Regions from separate parts of the Homo sapiens genome. Here region 2 is linked to region 1. Evidence: promoter capture Hi-C in 16 types of primary human blood cells and fetal thymus (Javierre and others, 2016). All regions are on one chromosome and are shown on one strand. Each heading gives the region's core, a stretch centred on a gene start or on the middle of the fragment in contact. The rest is flanking DNA. Distances are from core to core; before and after follow the strand shown.

The links. The method cuts DNA at HindIII sites, captures the fragments that hold promoters and counts their contacts. A CHiCAGO score of 5 or more calls a contact.
Region 2: a fragment that was not itself captured here is called in contact with the fragment with the promoter of RAB6A in region 1 in 2 of 17 cell types (non-activated CD4 T cells and total CD4 T cells); the score reaches 6.2 in non-activated CD4 T cells.

Annotation. Positions count from the first base shown.
Region 1 is chr11:73,757,858-73,765,489 of GRCh38, reverse strand. It overlaps RAB6A (RAB6A, member RAS oncogene family), which reads left to right and starts at 4,416. Exons shown (of 8, transcript NM_198896.2): 1 at 4,416-4,924. The coding sequence starts at 4,855. LOC124902711 (a long non-coding RNA gene) reads right to left here and starts at 4,332. Exons shown (of 2, transcript XR_007062775.1): 1 at 4,250-4,332; 2 at 2,390-3,753. RefSeq lists silencers at 3,809-3,998, 4,159-4,468 and an enhancer at 4,765-5,265. The HindIII fragment of the contact is 8,881 bases long and covers 3,699-7,632 here.
Region 2 is chr11:74,172,111-74,179,742 of GRCh38, reverse strand. All of the region lies in intron 1 of PPME1 (protein phosphatase methylesterase 1), which reads right to left. Among named protein-coding and RNA genes, the nearest start is that of PPME1, 4.6 kb to the right of the region's middle. The HindIII fragment of the contact is 790 bases long and covers 4,712-5,501 here.

The sequences.
Region 1 (7,632 bases), core at 3,167-5,666:
TTCTAGTATATATGGTGGAAGTATGTGTGTGTGTTATGTGTGCATTGCTGGATATGCAACCACTAGTGTCTGTCACTAAGAATAAGATGAAATTGACTGGGCGCAGTGGCTCACGCCTGTAATCTCAGCACTTTGGGAGGCCAAGGCAGGAGGATCACTTGAGGTCAGGAGTTTGAGACTAGCCTGGCCAACATGGTGAAACCCCGTCTCTACTGAAAATACAAAAATTAGCTGGACATGGTGGCACACTTCTGTAATCTCAGCTACTCAGGAGGCTGAGGCAGGAGAATCGCTTGAACCCAGGAAGTGGAGGTTGCAGTGAGCCGAGATCGGCCACTGCACTCCAGCCTGGACAGAGTAAGACTCTGTCTCCAAAAAGGAAAAAGAGAAATTTCAGCCAAGCACAGTGGCTCACGCCTGTAGTCCCAGCACTTTGGGAGAGCAAGATGGGCAGATCATCTAAGGTCGGGGGTTCGAGACTAGCCTGACCAACATGGAGAAACCCCATCTCTAGTAAAAATACACAATTAGCTGGGCGTGATGGCACATGCCTGTAATCTCAGCTACTCAGGAGGCTGAGGTGGGAGAATTGCTTGAACCCGACAGGCGGAGGTTGCGGTGAGCCGAGATCACGCCATTGCACTCCAGCCCGGGCAACAAGAGCAAAACTCTGTCTCAAAAAAAAAAAAAAAAAAAAAATTCAGTCCTCCTGCAAGAAGTTTTGTGTCTCTCAGGGCAGAAGATAAGCTATAATTTTATTACAATTTCTGTGTGATAGATTCCCTACATACTCCTGGGCTTCAATTTAGATATGACCTTTAAATAGATAATGAAAGCTGCTTTAGGTACTTTGAATTTGGAGCTGTGAAGACTGTCCTCTCCCATTGTTCCTAATTTTTAGTTACAAGATCTGTTCTCAGCATCTTTTTCATAAGTAATGGTTTAGGAAAGAAGTATCAAATTACATGACATATTTTTGGGTAATGTTCTCTTTCTCCAAAATGCTCTTAACCTTCCTTCTCTGCATGCCCAAATCCCATTCATCCTTTGAAGACAGTGAAAAATAATTCCTCTTTTATTTGATTTTGTCAGCAAACATCTGCTGCATGCTTACTATGTAGCAAGCACTCTTCAAGCACTGGGGATACAAGATGAGATCTGACCTCGTGGAGGTTACAGTCAAGTAGGGAACACTGACAATGAACAGCAATTAAGAATAGGATACAATAGGACAGGCAAAGGTACTTATACTGTTAGTGGGGATGGGAGCAGATGGGAGCAAGACTTGTGTGGTAGACTGAATGTTTGTGTCTCCCCAAAATTCATATGTTGAAACTATAGTCCCCAATGTGATGGTATTAGTAGGTGGGACCCTAGGGAGGTGATTAGGTCATGAGGGTGGAGTGCTCATAAATGGGATTAGTTCCCTTGTAAGAGGGAGCCCAGAGAGCTTTCTTGCTCTCTTTCTGCCATGTGAGGGCACAGTGAGAAGATGGTTGTCTATGAACCAGGAAGTGGGCCTTCACCAGACACAGTATCTTCTGGTACCTTGCTCTTGGACTTTCCAGTCTCCAGCTGTGAGAAATAAACATTTGTTGTTTAAGCCACCCAGTCATGGTATTCTGTTATAGCAGCCTGAATGGACAAAGACAACTTCTTTAAGTGGTAAGTGATTTAAAAGAAAAAAAAAAAAAGACAATTTCTTTAACTGAAGGATGAGTAGGAATTGGGGAAGAGTGGGGAAGGGAGGGGAAGAGTGTTTGCAGTAAAGAGAAGTGAGCGTAGGAAATCATGAAGGTGAAAATGTTGGTGAAAATACTCTTGAAAAGGGCCTCTCTAATTCCTCTTTCTCCTGAGTAATTTTTCCATTTGCTATACCCTACAGCACTTAATATGCAATGTTTAGGCCATAAAGTCTCTGAAGACAAAACTTACACAGAGTACTTGGTAATATGAAGGCAGCTTCAGAGGATAATGAGGCTGTGTATGTGTCAATGCAAAATGAAAGCTTAAAACATTAAAACATTTTAGGTAAGAGGTGGACTAGACCATAAGGCCCTTCAAAATGACAGGGAACAGTACCACCTGTCTAGGTGACTACAGAGACCAAAGCAGCAGGGAGGACTGATTCATAAAGTTCTGTAGGAAGTACAAAGTAATTATAGTTCCAATCCTCAGATGTTACTTTAAAGTCTATTTCAGGAAGCATAATGAAAACTTGGTACCCATCAGAAAGAAAATAGCTACTCACTTTTGTTTGCATAATCTTTTTAAAAAGTTTCTTGGTTTAAGCTGCTCTTTGTATGTGCCAGGGTTCTGGGTTAATGGTGGAGAGGACCCTATTAGATCTGACAAACTACTTGTAAAATCAAATGTCCATGCTACAAGCCAGGTTTTTACCATTTTATTTTAGATGCATGTTCTACCTGCACATGGCTGGGAGAGGAACCAGAAGGGAGTAAATTTTGATAGAGATGGTTTGAGGATATAGCTGTTGTCTTGATAGGCCAGAATAGATGATATTTTAAGAACTTTGGTTCTTCCCTGTAATTTATTCTAGGTCAGCAATTCATCCCTGGGCCTGAGAAGGCACTTTTTCAATCCTGTCATTTCTACAGCTAAGCAAATAACTCCCCAATAATGAGAAAAAGTACATAAATGTTTTGTGAATGATATACACAAATGATATACATTTGTGTATAGACACAAATGTAAGGACATATTTTTTATTATTCACTTAGAAAGTTTTTTTGTTTTTTTTTTTTTTTTTTAAGACAGGGACTTGTTCTGTCACCCAGATTTCAGTGTAGTGGTGCCATACCTCAGCCTCCAACTCCTGGACTCAAGCAATCCTTCTGCTTCAGGCTCCTGAGTAGCCGGAACTACAGGAGCACACCACGATATTCGGCTATTTTATTTTTTGTAGAGATAGTGTCTTGCTTTGTTGCCCAGCCTGGTCTCGAACTCCTGGGCTCAAGCGATTCTACCGCCTCGGCCTCCCAAAGTGCTGGGATTACAGACGTGAGCCACCGCGCCCAGCTGCTTTATGGATTTTTTTTTTTGGAGACAGAGTCTCGCTCTTGTTGCCCAGACTGGAGTGCAATGGTGTGACCTTGGCTCACTGCAACCTCCGCCTCCCGTGTTCAAGCGATTCTCCTGCCTCAGCCTCCCAAGTAGCTGGGATTACAGGCACCCGCCACCACACCACGTTAATTTTTTGTATTTTTAGTAGAGATGGGGTTTCATCATGTTGGCCAAGGCTGGTCTGGAACTCCTGACGTCAGGTGATCCACCCAACTCAGCCTTCCAAAGTGCTGGGATTACAGGGATGAGCCACCACGCCCGGCTTTTTTTTTTTTTTTTTTTTTTTTTTTCTGTTGAGATGGAGTCTCGCTCTGTCGCCAGGCTGGAGTGCAGTGGTGTGATCTCGGCTCACTGCAACCTCCGCCTCCCGGGTTCAAGCGATTCTCCTGCCTCAGCTTCCCGAGTAGCTGGGACTACAGGCGCGCGCCACCACCCCCAGCTAATTTTTGCATTTTTAGTAGAGACAGGGTTTCACCATGTTGGCCAGGATGGTCTCGATCTCTTGACCTCGTGATCCACTCGCCTCCGCCTCCCAAAGTGCTGGGATTACAGCCGTGGGCCACCGCGCCCAGCCCGCTTTATGGATTTTGCAAGTCATTTACTCCCTCTAAGCTTCAGTTTCCTCATCTGCAAAATTGGGAGGCCATGATTCTGGCAGTTATAACATTCCTGGGAGCAATGGAGGAGAATGTTATTTAGTAAGATGCCTGTGAGGAATTATGATGAGAGGATGGAGAAGGTGGGGTGTGTGCAATGGTGAAGAAGGGATCTGAGGACTGTGAGGCACGGCTGAGGGCTCAGGAAAGAGGCTCCCATTACAAATTTTAAGGCTATAGGACCCCACCCACACTTTTTGGGGGATCATATTCCACCTTTGTCCCGGCCCCGCCTCCGCCCCACCCTTCTCCCCCTCCCCTTTCTTTCCTTCCCCTCCCCTCAGGCTGAGAGGCGCCACACTTCTTATGGCCGCCACAGTGCTCCGCTTTCCACAGCTCGAGGGCTGCGCGCGCTCTCACGCTGCCACCTCACTCGCGTGTGGGCTCGCCCTCAGCCCCTTCCGATTGGCTCATTATGTAAGTGACGTAAGGGCTCCAGCCTCCCACTAACTTATCCCTGGCTTGCCCCGCCTCCTCCTGGCTTCTTTTGACGCCAGTGGAAACCTAACCTGCCCCGTCGCCGCCGTGCGGGAGGAGCCGGTAGAGCTGTCCAAACCAGGAAGGCGATGGCGATGGCGGTGGCGCGCACGCATGCACGCACGCACGCACGCCAGCGGCCGGCGGGGCCGCAGGCTCGCGCCCGGGCTCGCCCCGCGCCGCTCCAGAGGCTCGCGCACTCAGCAGGTTGGGCTGCGGCGGCGGCGGCAGCTGTGGAAGCTCAGGCGCTGCGCGTGAGAGGTCCCAGATACGTCTGCGGTTCCGGCTCCGCCACCCTCAGCTTCTCTTCCCCAGGTCTGGGAGCCGAGTGCGGAAGGAGGGAACGGCCCTAGCTTTGGGAAGCCAGAGGACACCCCTGGCTCCTGCCGACACCGCCCTCCTTCCCTTCCCAGCCGCGGGCCTCGCTCGGTGCTAGGCTACTCTGCCGGGAGGCGGCGGCGGCTGCCAGTCTGTGGAGAGTCCTGCTGCCCTCCAGCCGGGCTCCTCCACCGGGCCTTGCAGGGGCCGAGAGAGCTCGGTGCCCGCCCTTCCGCTCGCCTTTTTCGTCAGCTGGCTGGAGCAGCATCGGTCCGGGAGGTCTCTAGGCTGAGGCGGCGGCCGCTCCTCTAGTTCCACAATGTCCACGGGCGGAGACTTCGGGAATCCGCTGAGGAAATTCAAGCTGGTGTTCCTGGGGGAGCAAAGCGGTGAGTGCGTGGCTCCCCTACTCCTGGCAGCTGGCCGCAGCGTCCCCGCACCGCCCCCGGTGCGGCCCTTCCGTCCGCGGAGGCTCCCTGCCCGCCTCGCGTCCGCGCTCGTTGCCACCGCAGCCCTTCCCGATGTGCCCCCCGGTGCCACTGGCTCTTCGCCAGTGGCCGAGTTTTTACCCTGTTCCCCGGGTTCTTCAATCCTCGACTCCCCGGCTCCGTTCCCCGCAGTCCGGCCATCTCCGGTCGATCTGCCCTCCCTCCCCAGACCTCACCCCGCCCAGCCTCTTGTCCATCCCTTTCTTCCTCCGGTCTCGGTCATTGCCCGTACCCCGGCCCCCTTTCTTGAGCCCCACCCTTATTCCTTGCTCTTTTCCCAGTTCCTCAGCTCTGTGAGGCCCACTCAGGGAAGCCCCACTCCCGAGAGCGGGCCCTCTTCAACCTTGGCCAAGGAGGGTGGGATCTGGGCGTTGTTTTCCCCAGAGGCTTGGCCCTGCGAAGTGCTGATGTCGTGGAAGGTGGGAAGGGGTGGTAGTAGAAAAAATTAAATGATTTTCACCTGGGTGGGAAATTAGTCTGGGCCATAGAGGAAACATCTGAATTGGAGACGACTTGAGCATGGGGTGGTTGGGGGTGAAAGGGGTAGCGTCGGCAGTGGAGATTTTTGCCCCTTAGGTTAGATGGGGCTGTGGCTTGTCGGAAAACCTCATTTTGTTCTCTTGACTTTCATCACTGACAATTCTTTTGGCAATGTTGATGATTTTTCAATCTCTGCCAGATGCTATGTCATGATCATTTTACTTGGAATTTTTCTCATCTCACCTCCCCTTTTTCTCTTTTCAACATGAAGCAGCGTCTGAGTCTCATGGTGGTACAAAAGGGAATTACTGGGGAAATGTTAATTATTCATTCCTTCTTGAGTATTTTCCAATGATATATTGAGGATTCATGTGAGAGAAGGCTTGGAATAACAAACATCTTTGTTTTGTCGGATTTCCTTTGGAAAATGGAGTAGAGTAGGAACAGACTCATCATCTAGTTACCTAAATTAGATTTAAATACCATTTGGGCTAAATAATTCTTTTATGCTTAATATTCTGTACTGTCTGATGAGTGAAATTGTTATGTCATTTACCTGGTCAGGTTCTGCTGTCACTGTACTTTTGTATTAGATACTAGATCCTAATTTTGTGATGGTTGTATCTACGATTACTTCTTGTAGTAATTCCAGTTTTATGCTGTATTATACAAACTTGACACTCGACAATTCAGAGATGATTACCCTCCTTTGTTTTTCTCATACTTTGCATGCCCATCTTTAAAATTCAGACATTGAGAGATTAGTTCTGAGTCATCAAACATTGAGTACCTACTAGGTGTTTTAGGTGAGGTTATAGAAAACATTAGTTATTTGTTTTGACTGGAAGGCATGTAAGTGATATAAATTCGTAGCTTTTATTACTACTTTGAACTATTTATACTAATTTGTATGCCATCACAGAGGTTAATACTCTTGCAAAATTGCCTCCAGTTAGAACTGGGAAATCATTTTTCTCCTTTCATGTGTAGATTATCTTCCCCTCCTCCCTTTTGGGGGGAAAAATACAATCTCCCTCCTTTTTGCTTATATATTTTCCTGAAGTAAGTATAAACTTGTGTCTTTAGGTGAGTAACTTGGTAGAACCTATGGAGTTGCTTCTAGTCCAGCTTTTCTGTGTCAATATCAGGATAGTTCCCAAACATAAAATATAGTTTATTGGTTATTATTGATAAAAAGGATCCAAAGTGCTTATTGTGCATTCTAAGGATATTATTGCCTTCCTTATGTTGTGATGCACAGCTATTTAGTTTGCATGAAAAAACCTATTCATCTTCCTGCCTAAAAAGGTTTTAGCATGAATGGAGTGCTTAACTTCCTAAGTATCTTCAGGTTTCCTTTGAATTTCTTGAGTATTTGTGTATGTTCTAATGCATAATGGAGAGTTTTATGGCTTCTAATTTCGTACCTTGTTTAAGCCTCTACTACCCTCCCCCCTCCATTACTGAAGCCTGGTTAGATTTTTTTTAATAGACTTCATTTTTTAGAACAGTTTTAGACTTACAGAAAAATTGAAAAGATAGTGTAGAGTTCCCATATACCCACACATCTAGTTTCCCCTGTTATCAACATCTTGCATTAGTATGGCACATTTGTTAACAATTAATGAACTAATATTGATATGTTATTATTAACTTAAGTCCATAGTTTATTTAGATTTTTAGTTTTAACCTAATGTCCTTTTTCTGTTTCAGCATTCAATTCAGGATGTGAAGTTAATTATCTTTTGAGGTTACTATATTGTCAAGTAATGCCATTCATTAGCTTTGACAATGAAAGATTGATCTCTGTTTTCATGGTCAGTGTCTATAGTTTTCTTATGCGTTAGAAGTCTGTAGACTCCATGTCCTTTTGATGTAACTCTTCATGAATTATTTATTTTTAGGTCTGTTAGAATTCCACAATTCAGCTTTCAAAGACTGTAATCTATGGCAAAGCCTTGTTTCTTCTTAATAGCATTTACCACATTTACAATTATCTTATTTTTTATGTGTTTGTTTTTATTTCCCACAGAAGAATGCAACTCCCATGAAGATAAAAACTATTCTTTTTTGTTCAGTGTGTCCCCATTGCCTAGCGTAGAGCCAGGCTCATAGTAGCTGTTCAGACA
Region 2 (7,632 bases), core at 3,857-6,356, 410 kb before region 1:
TAAGCAGCAGACTTCAGGATTCTAAAAACTACATCATGAATCATGCTGTTAGAGATCATCTAACTCAAATCTTACTTTATGAAAGGAAACAACTAGGTGTTTATTACGTACCAAGCATGGTTTTGAACAGTACCATTAAAGTATTCTCATTTTAAGGTGACTCAGAAATACTAAATAACTTTCCCAGAGCCATTTTTGGTAGCACCGGAGCTTGGATTTGACTTTTTATTTTATAATTACTATTTTTAGAGATAGGGTCTCATTCTGTCTCCCAGGCTGGAGTGCAGTGGCACGATCACAGCACACTGCAACCTCAAACTCCCAGGCTCAAGTGATTCTCCCATCTCAGTCTCTCAAGTAGCTGGGACTAACAGGTGCGCACCACCATGCCTGGTTGTTTTGTTTTGTTTTAGTACAGACAAGTTTTTCCTATGTTGCCCAGGCTGGGGAGCTTGGATTTAAACAAGTACGTCAGGTGCCAAAGCGTTCTTTCTTTCCATGATAACGAGGCCCAGGAAGAGAAACTGACCAGAGTCATACAACTTGTTAGTGGCAGAGAGAGGATGTCTACTTAAACCTGGAAAAAGTCTATGGCCAAAAACACACACAGAAGCATATAGGAAAAGGACTGATAAGTAAACAACTTCGGTCTTCCGGTGTGGTTTGAAATGATTGGAATTTTCAATATAATCTCTTATTCAATCTTCAAAATATATTGGTAGAATATACCTGTAACTTGTAATCAATATTGTATTTGAAGAATATCTAAGTGTGGCCACCCTCTTAATAGAACTATTAATTAAAAGTTTCTTCTCTTAAAAAAAAAAAAACTATTTTGTAGTTTGAAGGAAACAGTCTTTCCCAAACAACTAGAGATGTTTTCTGAAATCTGACATCAAGTAGCATAACATGGAAGGCTCATTAGGTTTAAAATAAAACAAAAGAGCAAATTACCCAATTTTGGAGATACTAAGAAGAAATAGATTTGCTGGCAATAAGCAACAATGGAAAAACGGACTTTTACTCAGAAGTTCTGAAATGAATGTCAAGGGGCTGAAATCTGGCAATAAGGGGCAGGGGAGTTGGGGGTGGGATTATTACTTCCTATACTTACACTGCAATGAAAACAGTAGGGAAGTTGAAATCAGAAGATTAGGCTTCTCCACTTGTTAACCTCAGGATTTGGGCCAGATGCTGTTTATTCTCTATTCCAGACATTACCTGCCCACTTCCCACTCTCTCTTCCCTAACAGAATTGTAATACTTTTGTTTGAGCAGCTAGTGGAGATCTCTTGTTGTCTCTCCTCCAGTCCAAGGGAATGAATCAAAATTGGTCTAAACCAGTCATAGTTAATCCCATTCCCTACTGCCAGTGATTGGTTTTAGGATGGGTATGTGAACAGTTCTGGACAATAAGACTTAAGGGAAAAATCTGTTGGGGAGCTTGCATTTCTGGGAAAAAATTAAAAGACAAGCTTAGCTAGGAAAGGACTTTGGCCCCCGCTTCTTTTTATTTGTAAAGATAAGATAGAAGTAGAGTGGCAGCAGCCATCCTGCAACCATAAGGTGACAAGCAAGAGAAGGAAAAGCCACCATTCTAAGGATGGCAAAAGAAAGGATGCAAACAGCCTGGGTCCTGAATGAAATTGTTTAGCAACTGAATGAACCCTGGAACATCCTATCAATAATAAATGTCCTTGTAGTTTAAACTACAGTAAACTGATAACAGCAAATTAGATTGTTTCACATCAATATAATGTTGCTAATGTGAGTTTGGGGATTTTTGTAGACTTAATTGTATTTAAAGAGTAAATCTACTGAGTTTCACAATTATTTAAGAGTACTATTGAATTTAAGTAATATTAGATTGAATATAACTTAGGTCAATACTTGGAATCTGAAATATATTTCCTTCAAAAGGGATTCATACAAATTGAAAGATACCATATTTCTTCAAGGAACATTCAACATCATAAAAACGTTTATTCTAAATTAATGTTTGTATTTAATGTAATCCCAATAAAAATACTATCAGGATTTTTTTCTGGCACTAGTCTATGGGATTAGAAAGTTTATTTGTGAGAAAAAAACAAGAGGAACCACGAAAATCCTCAAAATGAATGAGGGGTAAACAACCTCTACCACCCATCAAAACATATTAATAAATCCTCTAATTAAAAGTACAGTAGTGGCACGTAAAAGAAACTCCACAGACCCGGATTTATATAGAAATTTGGCATATGACAAAGGTGTCATTTTAATCAGTGAGAAAGAAGACTTTTTTTTTTTTTTTTGAGACAAAGTCTCACTCTGTGTCCCAGGCTAGAGTGCAGGGGCATTATCTTGGCTCACTGCAACCTTTGCTTCCCGGACTCAAATGATCCTCCAGAGTAGCTGGGACTACAGGCACACACCACCACACCCAGCTAAATTTTTGTGATTTTTGTAGAGAAGAGGTTTCACCATGTTGTCCAGGCTGGTCTCCAACTCCCAAGCTCAAGTGGTCCACATGCCTTGGCCTCCCAAAGTGCTGGGATTACAGGCATGGACCACTGAGCCTGGCCAGGACTATTTCTTTATTGTAGTGAAATTTACGTAATGGGTAAAGGACTAAAAAATTTAATAAATGATGAAAACAACTAGATAGCCTTTGGATAAAAATAAAATGTCTTCTTTTCCTCACTTTGCATATCAAGATAAACTTCAAATGGATTAAAAAAAAATTGGCTCATGCCTGTAATCCCAGCACTTTGGAAGGCTGAGGTGGGTGGATTACCTGGGGCCAGGAGTTCAAGAGCAGCCTGGCCAACATAATGAAACCCCGTCTCTACTAAAAATACAAAAATTAGCTGGGTGTGGTGGTGCATGCCTGTAATCCCAGCTACTTGGGAGGCTGAAGCAGGAGAATCGCCTGAACCCGGGAAGTGGAGGTTGTAGTGGGCCAAGATCACACCACTGCACTCCATCCGGCCTCGGTGACAGAGCAAGACTCTGTCTCAAAAAAAAAAAAAAAAAAAAAAAGGACACTACACAGGTACCAGGAAAAAATATAAATGATTCCTTTATAACCCAAAAAAAGGAAAAGCCTTTCTGTGACTCAAGATCCAGAAGCAATACATGCTGGGAGGAAGGGAAGATGCTAATGAGTAACGAGTTTATGGGAGGATGAAAATGTTCTGCAATTAGTGGTGGTAATTGTACAACTGAGTGAATATACCAAAAATCACTGAATTGTACATTTAAAAGAGTGAATTCTATGGCATATAAATTTAACTTTTTAAAAATCTAATGAAAAAATAAAAAAAAAAACAGAAATACTGGGATTTGATTATTTTAGTAACTCAATTTGTGACCTTGAGCAAATCACTTCACTTTGCCCTTTATTTCCCCATCTGTGTGAATAGCTCATTAAAGCCTTCCTAAGAGGCCTGATATCCATAATAAATTTAAGAAGATGGATGAAAGACTATCTAATCAGATATGAATAAACATACAGCTTGTGGGGACAAAAAAGCTGATAACATAAGAAACTGAAAGGAGAGCTTCCACATAAACTATGAACCTTCTTCACAGTTCTCAATGTATAATTATCTACTAGCTATCATTCTTTAAGAGCTTATGTGTCAGTGTCAGGAACTATAAGTGCTTTTTATGTATTATCTTATTCTCACAGCACTCTCAGGTAAGCAGAAGTATTCTCATTTTAGAGATAAGAAAATAGACTATGAGAAGTTAAATGACTCGACCAATGTAAATACCTAAGTTGGGCTTCAAACTTAGATCTTTGTCACTTCAAATATCAAACCCTTCAATGCAAGCTATAGAAAGAACAATGGACTAAAAATACGAAGTCCTGGGTTTGAATGTTGTTCCTGCCACATAATGATTCTGTGATCTTAGGCAAGTCAATGAACATTTCAGTTTTCTCATTTATTAAAAGAAAATATTAACTCCTGCCCTAGTTTACCTCATAGAATATAAAAAGGGACTACTATATACATGTCAGTTAAATCACTACAGAGCTGGGCATGCTAGCATGTATCCTCAGTCCTACCTACTCAAGAGGATGAAGTGGGAAGACTGCTTGAGCCCACGAGTTTGAGGTTGTAATGCACCAAGATTATGCCTGTGAAAAGCCACTGTACTTCAGCCTGGGCAACACAGCAAGACTCTATCTCTTGCAAAAGAAAAAAAAAGGAATTTAAGAGATAATAATAGAAAAGTAGAACTTTTTTTTTTTTGAGATGGAGTTTCGCTCTTGTTGCCCTGGCTGGAGTGCAATGGCGCGATCTCGGCTCACCACAACCTCCGCCTCCCAGGTTCAAGTGATTCTCCTGCCTCAGCCTCCTGAGTAGCTGGGATTACAGGCATGTGCCACCACGCCAGCTAATTTTGTATTTTTAGGAGAGACGGTGTTTTTCTATGTTGGTCAGGCTGGTCTTGAACTCCCGACCTCAGGTGATCCACCCGCCTCGGCCTCCCAAAGTGCTGAGATTACAGGCATGAGCCACCACACCTGGCCAAAAAGTACAACTACTGATAAACCAAAAACACGTTGAATAATGAATGGCTTTAATATTTTATAGTTCCTCTAATAGTAATAGTATATACGAAAGCAGTGACTTTCAAAAGATACTTCTCTCAAGCACACCAGGGGTGCAAAGCAAATAGGGATCTCAAATCTACTTTAGTCAGAGTAGCTCTAAAAGCTTTAATAAAGAAGTTCAAAACCACTGTTTTTGGCAACATCCATTGGCATCTATTAAAAGGAAGAGTGACACCAGGATTTCAGGCCTTACCCAAGAGAAAATATTAGTGTACTGAAAAGTGAATGGATTCTAGAGACTAAACTTAGATTGAATCCTAGCTCTGCTACCTACTAGTTGGGTTACTTTTAATCTCTGGGTCTGAATGTCTTTACCCACAATGCAGGAAAATATTCACCATGCAGGTCTGTGGACACATTAAATAACATAAAGTTACCATTACAATGTCTGGCACACAGTACTTACTTTAAAAATTGCTATTATTAAATTATCCAACAATACTTTGGAATTACTAAATCTAATCTGAAAAACTGAATTATGGAAACTCATGAAAAATCACCAACTCAGAATATGCACCCTGAATATGCAAACATGCCTAAATAATGTTTAGTGAAATTGAAGGCAAGAGATCATGAAAAATAGTTAAGAGTAAGCCACACAAGAGACTATCAAGAGAACAGGACTAACTTGTGAGTAACATAGATAGAGTGGAAGAATGGAAGTTAAGAAAAAAGCAAGTAAGCATAAGGAGACATAAAGAATGCTTTGAAATTGGTGTGAGACTTCATAAATTACGACTGAAGAAAAAGACTGAATCCTAGATTATATGCAAATGAGTAAGATACACAACTCAAAATAAGTATCCCCAGATGACAATTATGACTCCAAAATACACAATGGGTCTCACAGTCAAGAGACCCAAGTCCTAGTCCTTAACGGCCCTACCGCTAAGCTTCTAGGGTACCTTAGGAATATCTGAGTCTCAGTTCCCTCATTTATTAATACATTCCCTTATAGAATACAGAACTCTCTGAATATTGGGTTCCTCAACTACATGAAGTGGTGAAATGAGACCATGTCTATGCTTTCTCTCAGCTTTATGATTCTAAGGAGAAAGAGAATCTATATTATTACTACCATGAGACTTAGATGAAGCCTGCTTATATACCAATAAAGTAGAAAAGAAAGATACGGGAAAATAAGCCATTTGAGGACCACACAAATATTCGCCAATATATGCTCTTCTCTTCACAATACTATCATAAAGAAAGGCCTTTCTAAAGAACTTTCTTTTCCAGGATAAGCAGTTAACCTAAACCAAGAAGACCAAAGCATCTTTTTAAAAAGGTAAGTTGTCCAGGCACAGTAGCTCACTCCTATAATCCCAGTACTTTGGGAAGCCAAGTGGGGCAGATCACTTAAGGCCAGGAGTTTAAGACCAGCCTGGCCAACATGGCGAAATCCCCTCTCTACTAAAAATACAAAAATTAGCCGGGCGTGGTGGTGCATGCCTGTAATCCCAGCTACTTGGGAGGCTGAGGCACAAGAATCACTTGAGCCCGGGAGGTGGAAGTTGCAGTGAGCCGAGATTGTGCCACTGCACTCTAGCCTGGGCAACAGAGTGAGACTCTGTCTCTAAAAAAAAATAAAATGAAAAGTAATAAAAAATAAAAACGATAAATTACTAACAATTATACAATCTTCTAATCAGCAGATTTTCCTTTTTTTTTCTCTCAGTATCTTCATTCAGTTCTTCAATCTTCAGAGAACTTGTTTCTCCAAGATGAGAAGCTGAGCTCTAATTAAGCTTATCTAAGGAATGTATAATTATTAAAAATCTGATTTTCTTATGTATTTGTATAGAAGGGTGCTGGTATACTGAAAAATCAAATTTATTTTAAGAAAGGCAGCAACTAAGATATTTAACAACAATTAATGTTACATTAATATTAAACTCCAGGTTAGTTTTCCCAAATAATGTTATGGGTCAGTTTCCAAATTCTCTTTATTCATGTTATAGTCCAACTTTTCTGTCTTCCAAAGCCAAAACAATCTTCACTTTACCTTCTATGTAGCCTTCTACCTCTATTGTGCGTCTATCTCTCTATCTCCTCCTGCTAAAGTTTTCTCATTTTTCTACTGCGTATCATAGCAGGTCTCCACTCAATTCTTAGTTTCCTTCCCTGGTTTTTCCACCCATTTTTCCCATTCCTTTACCCCACTGTTTTATAGGATTCTCCTTTCTTTTCATCCCTAGGACTTACTGTCACAGTACTGCATCTCCTACTCTCGCCTCCTTTTTGATAAGTTTTTACACATATTACTTCTTCAGAACCTAAGGTTTCTCTTCTGTAGTCCTTTTTCAAAGAATATCTACCAATTCATCTCTAGAATCCCAAATATACTCTGGAGCCCTCATACCTAAGTATCTTTCCTACTCCTTTTCTCTTTACAGTCACTAATTCCCAGAATCCTGTTTGAAACTACAAATATCCCCTCAAAACCAAATGCCTATTCAATTCTCTCCACTTTCCAGCAATTACTTCTCCCATGTTCACCTCATTCTTTCTCCTCGGCCCAAGTATCCCCTAACCTGGCACAAGCCATTTAACGATCTAAAATTCCAAAACCTATCTCTTCTACATGGCTCTCCTTCCTTTCCAGCAAACTATTTCTCGAACTCCCAATGCTTCACTAATTCAAAGTCTTAGGCCAGTACGTCGCTTCCCTCAGATCTACTAGCCCAGCAAAAACTGATTGCCCAAATCTTCCTCTAAGCTTCCCAGACCTTACAACTGCAGCACTTCCATTCACCAAACCGTATTTATAGTCATCTCTCAATCTTTAGAGCCTATGGTCACTCTGTAAATTCTTCAGTTCTCTCCTTCTTCTCTCTCCCTTATCCTGTCCAGCTTCTCACTCTGTAAATTCTTCAGTCCTCTCCTTCTTCTCTCTCCCTTATCCTGTCCAGCTTCTCAGCACATTCCTACTACCCTTAACAATCTTCGTGGCTATGTTCTCCACCTTACCTTAGGCCTACTCCCTAAACTTTCTCATTCTCCCTTAAGAGACCTAATCTCACCTC